Linked DNA regions of Homo sapiens: regions 1 and 3 are each linked to region 2. The links are contacts of gene promoters, found by promoter capture Hi-C in human tissues and cell types (Jung and others, 2019). All regions are on one chromosome and are shown on one strand. Each heading gives the region's core, a stretch centred on a gene start or on the middle of the fragment in contact. The rest is flanking DNA. Distances are from core to core; before and after follow the strand shown. Region 1 has its middle 25 kb from the start of KCNK5. Region 2 holds the start of KCNK17 (potassium two pore domain channel subfamily K member 17). Region 3 has its middle 34 kb from the start of KCNK17.

Evidence for each region. The method cuts DNA at HindIII sites, captures the fragments that hold promoters and counts their contacts. A contact is called where the count stands out against the background at its distance.
Region 1: a fragment that was not itself captured here is called in contact with the fragment with the promoter of KCNK17 in region 2 in 1 of the 25 tissues and cell types used here (mesendoderm cells).
Region 3: a fragment that was not itself captured here is called in contact with the fragment with the promoter of KCNK17 in region 2 in 2 of the 25 tissues and cell types used here (small bowel and spleen).

What each region holds. Positions count from the first base shown.
Region 1 is chr6:39,252,813-39,256,005 of GRCh38, forward strand. No RefSeq gene overlaps it. Among named protein-coding and RNA genes, the nearest start is that of KCNK5, 25 kb to the left of the region's middle. The HindIII fragment of the contact is 9,224 bases long and covers 1-3,193 here.
Region 2 is chr6:39,312,573-39,315,668 of GRCh38, forward strand. It overlaps KCNK17 (potassium two pore domain channel subfamily K member 17), which reads right to left and starts at 1,847. Exons shown (of 5, transcript NM_031460.4): 1 at 1,512-1,847. The coding sequence starts at 1,748. It overlaps LOC105375047 (a long non-coding RNA gene), which reads left to right and starts at 1,384. Exons shown (of 3, transcript XR_926774.3): 1 at 1,384-1,652. It also overlaps a transcript of KCNK16 not described here. The HindIII fragment of the contact is 22,753 bases long and covers 1-3,096 here.
Region 3 is chr6:39,279,254-39,282,502 of GRCh38, forward strand. No RefSeq gene overlaps it. Among named protein-coding and RNA genes, the nearest start is that of KCNK17, 34 kb to the right of the region's middle. The HindIII fragment of the contact is 5,777 bases long and covers 1-3,249 here.

The DNA of each region.
Region 1 (3,193 bases), core at 209-2,708, 60 kb before region 2:
GTTGGTGTAAAGGAATGCTTGTGATTTTTGCACATTGATTTTGTATCCTGAGACTTTGCCGAAGTTGCTTATCAGTTCAAGAAGTTTTGGGGCTGAGATGATGGGTTTTTCTAAATATAAAATCTTGTTGTCTGCAAACTTTGTTGTCTTTCTTGCAAAATCTTGTTGTCTTCCTTGCAAAAGAGAGGAAGACAACTTGACTTCCTCGCTTCCTATTTGAATACGCTTTATTTCTTTCTCTTGCCTGATTGTCCTGGCCAGAACTTCCAATACTATGTTGAATAGCAGTGCTGAGAGAGAGCATCCTTGTTTTGTACCTGTTTTCAAAGGGAATGCTTCTAGCTTTTGCCCATTCAATATGATACTGGTTGTGGGTTTGCCATAAATAGTTCTTATTATTTTGAGGTATGTTCCATCAATACCTAGTTTATTGAGAGTTTTTAACATGAAGGGATATTGAATTTTATCAAAGGCCTTTTCTGTGTCCATTGAGATAATCATGTGGTTTTTGTCTTTAGCTCTATTTATGTGATAGATTACGTTTATTGATTTGCGTATGTTGAACCAGCCTTGCACCCTGATTCTGGAACATTTCACCACATCTACTTTATCATCCTCTCTTTTTATATACGCCCATTCATCTTTTTCTTTTCTTTTTTTTTTTTGTCTGAGGCAGTGCCTTACTCTATCACCCAGGCTGGAGTGCATTGGTGCAATTGTAGCTTACTGCAATCTTGAACTCCTGGGCTCAAGTGATATTCCAGCCTCAGCCTCCTGAGTAGCCGAGACTATAGGCATGTGCCACCATGACTGAATAATTTTTAAAATTCTTTGTGTGTGTGTATGGGGGTGGTTTTCACGATGTTGCCCAGGCTGGTCTTGAACCCCTGGCCTCAACAAATCTTCCTGCTTCCATTTCCCTATGGGCTGGAAGTACAGGCATGAGCCACTGCGCTTGGCCTTTCCATTCATCTTTTTCTGAATTTGAGATGCAGACATGATGCCCATCAATATAAGAATAATCACCTACCTAAATTCTTCATCAGCTCTTCAAATTAGGGAATTGACCTTGGCACAGGAAACCATTCAATCTACAGATCCTGTTCAAGTGTTGCACATTGTCCTAAGAATGTCCATTTTACGGGGGGTGGTGGGGGAGGGGAGAAGTCCAGGAGGGAATCCAGGACCATGCATTACATTTAGTTGTCATGTGTCACCCATCTTCTTCAATCTACAACAGTTTCTTCGTCTTTCCCTGCATTTTGTATCCTTAGCAGTCTTAAAAAGGTCAGGCCTTTTATTCCATTGGATGACCTTCAACTTGAGTTCCTTTGGTGTTTCCTCATGACCAGACGCAGGCCATACATGCAGTTTTGACAATAAATACCACAGAAATGTTTCTGGACCTTTGTCCCTTGGTCAAGTTGGTGTCTTCCAGGCTTCTCCACCAGAGTCCCCATCTCCCTTTTGTAATTAATAAGTATTTTGTGGAGAGATAATGTGAGATTATGCCAATATGCCAATCCTCTTCAAACCTCTGTGCACCAGCTTTGACATCTGTTGACAACTCCCATCTGAATCAAACACCAGTATGGTGGTTGCCAGTGGTGATTTTTCTATTTCTATAGTTCCTTCTACCATTTAGTAGTTGGCATTCTACTATAAGAAAAAACCTTCCTTTCTCTCCCAGTTGTTTGTTTGTTTATATCAGGATGGACTCATGGATTCCTATTTTACGTAGGTGGTTGAAATCTGTTAATATTATTGTTTATTTTGGTGGTCAAATTGTCCCAGAATGGGCCAAACCGACCCCCTTCAAGCTGGCCCCTTGTGTCCTTTGACTTGTCCCCATCATTCTTGGAGCGTTTTCTTACTTTCTGGCATGATAAAATGTTCCAGGCTCTTTTGCACTTTCCTTGCTTCAGCCCTGGAATAGGGAGCCCTGGTTCCTTTTTGTGAAGAGTGATGTTTAGAAACCAAGATCTGAGAGCTTGGTGTGCTTGTGGTTATTGGGGTGACATTACTTCTAGGCCCTCTCAAAGATTAGAGCTAGGATACACACACATACACACATACATACACAACCAATTTCCATCATTTGCTAATTCAGTGGCAACACGAATTGGCAAATACTGACACATTGCTCCTAGGACAAGTACAGGGTTAGGTTCCATGAGCCTCTCTGGTCACAACATTTTCATCAAACAACCAATACAGAACCTCATTTTATGTGTGTTTCGGTTTGAAGACAGCTCATTTAATATACATGGTTGATTCATGAACATCGAACTCATGGCCACCAGCACTATAACTTCTACTGGAACAAAGCTTATCTACCATGTATATTCTTTCACCACGAACACATCACAGCCTTCTTGTGCTTAGGCAATCTAAACAGTTCTGCAGCAGTGTAGTTGAGGTCTATTTTCAACAGCAAAAGCACCAAGGAAAAGTACAAAAATGAAAAAATATGACACCAAATAGACCACAAAAAGGACACTTGTTTACAGTAAAGCACTGAAATGAGAAGGCAGAGTGTCGCCTTGTTCAACCTCAGCTGGGGCCACATGTACACCAGGCAACTCATATTTTCCCCTGCTTTGTACATGTGCAAGAATGACTGCAAAAGTGCCATGGGTATTGATTTTGCAGTTACAGATAAATTTTAGCAACAGGGCAAATTTATATATACAGAATCCCTGAATAATGAAGATCAATTGGCCGGGCACAGTGGCTCATGCCTGTAATCTCAGAACTTTGGGAGGCTGAAGCGGGCAGATCACCTGAGGTCAGGAGTTTGAGACCAGCCTGGCCAACACGGTGAAACCCTGTCTCTACTAAAAATACAAAAACTAGCTGGGCGTGGTAGTGCATGCCTGTAATCCCAGCTACTCGGGAAGCTGAGGCAGAAGAATCACTTGAACTTGGGAGGTGGAGGTTGCAGTGAGCTGAGATCATGCCACGGCACTTCAGTCTGGGCAGCAGAGTGAGACTCTGTCTTAAAAAAAAAAAGATTAACTATACATAGATACACATACATTATACATACACAACACACAGATATCTATAGCTATTTTAAAGTCTAAGTATAATTTAAAATCATGAGTTCGGCTGGGCGCAGTGGCTCAAGCCTGTAATCCCAGCACTTTGGGAGGCCGAGGTGGGCAGATCACGAGGTCAAGAGATTGAGACC
Region 2 (3,096 bases), core at 597-3,096:
AAAAACAGTACCCACCTGTGAGGGTGAAACAGGATGATAAAAACAGTACCCACCTGTGAGGGAGGTGAGACAAATGAATACGGGTAAAGTACCAGCAACAGTGCTTGGCACACGATAAGTGCTGCACAGAGGCATTTACTGTTATTATAATCACCATCATAGCCATCTCCCTGGGCCCAGGCTGCTTGTAGTCGAAGTTCACCACCTTTGCAAGGGTAATGGCAGGCAGCCTCAGCACCAGGACCCAGCAGTCGGGCTGTATTTGCAGAAGTCCGCAGGTGGGGAGCTGGAGGAATCACTTTAGGTCCTTAGTAGAGATAGGCCTGGCCCTGGCTACCTCCTGACCTCACCGAATCGGCCTAGTCCGAGGGTTCAGAACACCACTTCCGCTCCGCGCTGGGTCCCTTCCCACCCTGGCACGGTTCCCTGCCACCTTCCGGGGATTGGCTTTGGACTGGAGACTCTGGACGGATAAGCCACCAGGACTGCAAGACGGGGATTCTGGGCTGGCGCGCAGCTGTCTGGACTCTGGGCTCTTGGACGAAGGGGTGGGGAACCAAGCCAGGACCCAGGACATCAATGCCTCCGCCAAATCGAGCAGCTGCCAGTCTGGCGTCGCTTCAGTCCTAAGATGCGCCACCCCTAGAACCCTCCCCGGCCTCCTCCGCCCTGCTAGGCCCCACCCTTGAGGAGCCTCTGCTCAGATTTACCTCTGAGTCCTCCCCTGAACCCTGCCTTCAGCCTTTCTGGGCAGCCGCGCGGCGGCGGCGCGCCCAGTCCTTGTGTCCGAAGACTCGGAGTAAAGCGGGTTCAGCCAGAGAGCGGCCCTGCGTCCGCCCTCCTCTCGAACCCGGGTCTGCGCACGTCGAGCCCCCTCTCTGCGTTGAGGGTGGCCCCGACCAGCACGCCTCGGGCCCAATCCACCCACCCTCCGGGACAAACGCGCCTTCCCCCAGGCTCCTACGGCCGCGCCCTCGCTCCTGCGCATCCTTAGACCCGGCGCCCCTGCCGTCCCAGCTCCCAGTTCGCAAACGTGCGCCCGGGTTCCCCCTCTGGAAGCGGCCAGGTGTGGCGTTTAGCTCTTTGCCACGGGTGCGGGTGCGACCAACCCCCAAGCAGGCTCAAACGCGCCCTTTCCCGGGTCAGGCCGGGCGGGGCCGGTTACGCGCGCGCCCCCTGCCGTAGTCGTCCTCGCCCCCAAATTTGGATGTGTCCCCAGGCATCTGCCTCCTCACCGGGCCAGCATGCCCTCTCGCCCCCAAGTAGGACTCAGCCCGGCTTCTCGCAGTCCTCTCGCTAGGGCGAGGGTCTTTTCCTCCGAGGTCCCCCAACCCTCTGGTCCCCGCGCAGGAACGCCCACCCCCGTTGTGCCCGCGTCTGCGTTCCCGACGTTTCCCTGAACAGGAAACACCTGACCAGGGCCTGAATAGGCCCCCTCGCCCTCGGCCCGTACACCCCGCGGCCCGCTACCCCATCCCGCCGCGCCCAGGCCGACGCCGCTCGCCCCTGACCCGGATCAGCGAGTCCAGCGCCGGGCGGTCCAGACACGTGAAGTTCTGCAACAGCTCCCACTTGTCGCGCTGGAAGCTGCGGCTGGAGTCCTGCGCCGCGCGGCCCTCCAGCGTCCAGAACACGCCGGTGCCCAGCGCCAGGTAAGCCAGGTAGGCGAGCAGCAGGAGCACGGTGCTGGGCACCGCGCAGCCCCGGACCCTGCCCTCGGGAGCCGCCCGGGCTCGCGGTCGGTACATAGCGGGAGAGGCGGGGAGCCGGCGCCGGGAGCGGTGGACTAGGACCCGGTGGGAGGGAAGGGCCAGGCGTCCAGCTCGTATCTCCTCTCGCAAACGCCTGCTGGTGCCCGGTTTCGCCGGGGAGGAGGAGTGTTGGGGAATGGGACAGCCTGGCCCCACCCAGCCCTGGGATCCAATCCCCGGGACAAAAAGAGGCTCTGAACTGTGGGCATCTGGCCCCGCCTCAAATGTGTGCGGGGTGCCCACCTGCTAGGCCTAGGCCAGGGAGAAGGAGGAAGCTGCTGGGTGACCGCAGGCGCTGAGGGAAGGGGCCCAGAGCCCCCTCACATTTCCTGAAATGAACAATGGGAGGGACTTCTGGAAACCGCACTCAGAGGTAGGAGATAGTAGAGACCAACTTTATTGTCTTGGGGCCCCTGCCTAAGTTCTTGGACTCGGGGGCTATCTCCAAGGACTTGCTGTCTGTCAATCTCAAGACCACCTTGGGTCTCCCACACCTCTGTCCTTTCCTTTGTACCCCAAAAGAGGGACCCCAGCTGATTGCCACTTGTCCATGAGCTTGGGAGGTAAGAGGAGCCTTAACCAAGAGGCTTGTCCACTCCTTGCTTCTGAGAAGGCCCCCGAAATCCCTCTACCTGGAGTGGAGGAAGCGTCTAGGCTGTGTGAAGAGTCCGTGGGTCCTCAGCTTCCCAGTCCTTTCTTGGATATGGGGAAGTCCTGGGGTGTGACTTGGACTCCTCTTGCTGCTGTAGAGCCTCTCCTGGGTCTCCTGCCTGGAGCCGCCTTGGCTCCACAGCCTTGCCTCAGACCTGTGCAGAGGAACCCAGCCACATAGGAGCCCACTTGCTGTTGGATGATGGGAGAGGCAAAGGCCAAAATTTCCAGGCCCCGGGATGGAGTGGTCTAAATCTCTCCTGGTCAGGGATGTTGCAGTCTGGCAGGGGAAAGGCCAGACCTGGAGAATGCATTCCTGAGAGAGGCCAGACGTTCATGGAGCTCACTTTCTGGAAGGATCCTGGGATCTGCTGGCTCTCTGGCTTCCCATGGGGTGTTTGGAAAGGCTCTTGAGAAGGCAGGAGCCCAGAGGGAGTGATGAAGTTAAGGGGGTGGCCTGTGAGGGTCAGGGGAGGCCATGTTCAGGAAAGTGGGTAGGACACCCAAGAGGTCCTAAGCTTTGTTCACAGACAGCCCTGGACTTCTAGGCAAGGGGAGCTGGCGAGCTTTGAGAGGCAGCTCGCCTGCCCCTCGGCTGAGAGCTTCCTGAGGGCAGAGATCCTCTTTTCACTAAGATTGTTCCAAAGTCTCTGCCCAGGTCTCCCCTCTCTTTGATGCTCCCTGCCAGCCATTC
Region 3 (3,249 bases), core at 657-3,156, 33 kb before region 2:
CCAATGCCTTTCTCCTGAAAGATGGGGATAATAACAGTAGCTACCTCATTGGGTTCATAAGAGGACTAGGTGATAAAATGTTTGTGAAGTGCCAGGTAGAGTAACCTAGAATCATAATTTTTATGATTATCTCCAAACACCGTTGCCATCAGCAGTAGGAAACACTGCTGCCATTGGCAGTAGGAAAAACTGGGCAGGACCCCTCCTGAGCAGCCCATGCCAGGACCTCAGGCTACAGTGACCCCAGGAGTTGCCTTGGCAGGAGAAGGGTATCCAGGCAGCTGTGCTCTCACCACTGGCTGGGGCTGGAATGTTCCGAGTGCTTGCATAAGAACCAGGATGGGGATCCAGGTAGCTCAGTGTTTGCAAAGCATAGCTTTCCCTGGGCCACAGAAGCTACCAGCCCTCATGGTGATGAAATGTGCCCACTGTGGGTGGAGCAGGTCAGCCACTGCCATGGCTGCCTTGCCCGCCTCGCCCCACTGGAGTAGCACAGAACAGTATGTCTTGCTCTGGGTTTCAGCCTGGCCCAAAGCCCAGGGTCCAGGTACAAGGGTGGAGGGTCAGGCAGAGGGAGTGAGGCAGCAGACCCCGGCATGAGCATTCGCTCTGCTGCTGGCAAGCAGGGTGGCCTTGGCCGGTCCTTCCCCTCAAAAGAGCTTGTTTTCAAGTGATTTCTAAGCCCCCTTTAGCTTGGAGAAGTTTCGTCCTCTCACACTCCTAGGGAAAGGCAGCCAGGTCAGTGTCCCGTAGCATTTCATGGCCCCCAATCTCTGGTTCTGCCAAGAAAACTAAAAGTTTGGGTTCTGGTTTTCCTTCTTCCTTCCTTCATTCAGGTTTTCCTAAGGGCTGAGCACATTCTGTTGCAGGAAGCACCTGTTCTTGAGGCTTCAGGGTCCAAGTGAGAAGAAAAGACAAAAGACCCCACATACCCCAAGTCAGTCAGGTGACAGCAAGTACCCAGAAGGGCTGAGACAGAGGGTGTGAGGACAGCTCTGAGGAGGACATCAGGGGCTGCCAGAGAGCGGGGTGTGGCACGCAGGAGGGAAGAGAGGGCGTTCCAGGTGGGAGCCTGCAAGAGCCCAAACCGGATGTGGTTGAGTCAGGAAGGGCAGGAGTCAGAGGCTTGGACAGCAAATCACTGGCCCTGAGATCACCCCAGGCTTTCACCACTGTGCATTGGCCCCTGCATGGATCTAGGGCCAGCCCTGCTGCAGGGGCTCCCTGGGGACTGGGCGTCCCCTGGCCCAGACCCACCCCATTGCCTCTGTCCGTACAGGAGCTGCCTGTGACCAGCTGAGAGCAGCAACCTCTGGGGACAAGGCTATGTGGCTGCCAAGGCTGTGGCAGTAGCTGACTCTCACTCATCACTCTCCCTTTCAGTTTTCTTTCCGGGTTCACTTCAGGAGCTGTGATTTTCCTACGGCTGAGTCACCCAGGGAAGGGCAATAATAAAGGGTGATTAACAGTGTTTCAGTTCCTAGGATTTCCCATCTCAGTTTATATGAATTTGGAGCAAAGCCACAGAAGTACAGGTGGTGAGGGAGGCAAGGGCCTTTGCAGGGACCTAAGGAGACCACTCCCCTCAGACTAGGGTTCCCTGAGGAGAGGGCTGCGTCTCCCCTCAGACTGGGGCTCCCTGAGGACGGGGCTGCGTCTCCCCTCAGACTAGGGTTCCCTGAGGAGAGGGCTGCGTCTCCCCTCAGACTGGGGCTCCCTGAGGACGGGGCTGCGTCTCCCCTCAGACTAGGGTTCCCTGAGGAGAGGGCTGCGTCTCCCCTCAGACTAGGGTTCCCTGAGGAGAGGGCTGCGTCTCCCCTCAGACTGGGGCTCCCTGAGGACGGGGCTGCGTCTCCCCTCAGACTAGGGCCCTGAGGACGGGGCTGTATCTTCGTTCTATCCCTTCTACTGGGGCTTCCTGAGGAGTGGGTACAGCTCTCTTTCTTCTGTACCAGGTCCACTGTAGCCATGGGCCATTGGGTACCTCTGCAGAGGTCCTATTGGGCCCACGGACTAGAGCAGAGCAGATGGCCTGGGTCCGCCTGGTAGGGTCTCTCCTCACACCAGGAAAAGATGACGACACAGAAAGTCCCTCATTTCTCCCCCGTGCTTGTGCTTGCTCTTCGTTCCTTTCTCCTTCTCTCAGTCAGACCACAAAGGGCTACAGCCCTTTCCTGCATCTCTCACTGCCCCTCCCACTACCTGTCCACTCCCACCCAGCCCTTTGGTCACTGTTCTGACCCAGAGCCACCCTGGTACTCATTGACCAGGGGGCAAAGGTGCCAGAACTGGGCACTGCCAGCAAAACCAGAGCCCAAGTCAACTGTGCAAGGAGGGGCTTCTCTCCTGTCTCCTCTCCACTGCTGGCTGACTAAAGTCCACCTGGACTCTCCTTGGCTGCAATCCCCAATGGGAGCTGCCGGCTAGAGAGAACTGACTTGCGCTGCCATGGCAGGATAGGTGACAGGAACGACCTGCTGGGAGCCTAGACCAGCTCCAGGAGAGGTCACCTTCCACCAGTGAAAGACACTACCAACACTTCCACCACCTCTCAGTGCTGTGGGTGACCGGGAGCTGCTCCTTGAGGTGACACCTGTGTGGCCTGGGGGCCCCTTCCACACACTGCTGTTCGTTCCCAGCAGCAGATCCTGTTGCAGAGCCATCCTCGGGACTGCGGGTGTTAACGAAGCCTGTGATCTTCCTCAGACTTTTCCACCAGAGAGGCACCTGAAGGAGCCACACCACATTCCCCTGAAGGCTTGTGTGTGGGCGTGGGCTTGGCTCAAAACAGCCAACCCAGAGCACCAGTGGGATCGCAAGTCTTCCGTTTATTGAATATCCACACAGGCATCTTACATTCTACTTCATCATACTGTTTAATGTGAAAATAATATTTTCCTCACATTCTTTGAGCCAAATTGCTGCTCTAGGAAGGTGGGGCACATTCATCCTGTGGCTTTCCTGCCCTGGGCACAATGGTGCTAGTGCTGGGTGCCCAGAGCAGGTGGCCCAGGGGCCCAGGTAACTTCAGATTTGGTCCCAATGCAGACGCATCTCCCCACTCAGGTGTGCAAGAAGCGTCTCTATCCTTCCTGGCCTCACCTTTCCTGGTGATTCCTGTGGAAGGCAGATTGGGTCACCTGTTCACCCAGGGGGTGCTCTCTGGCTGCAGGATGCCCTGCAGCTCCTCCTCCCCACTGCCCTCCAGCCTGCTAGGCCTCTACTCCCGCATCATTGGCTGAGAAGTCC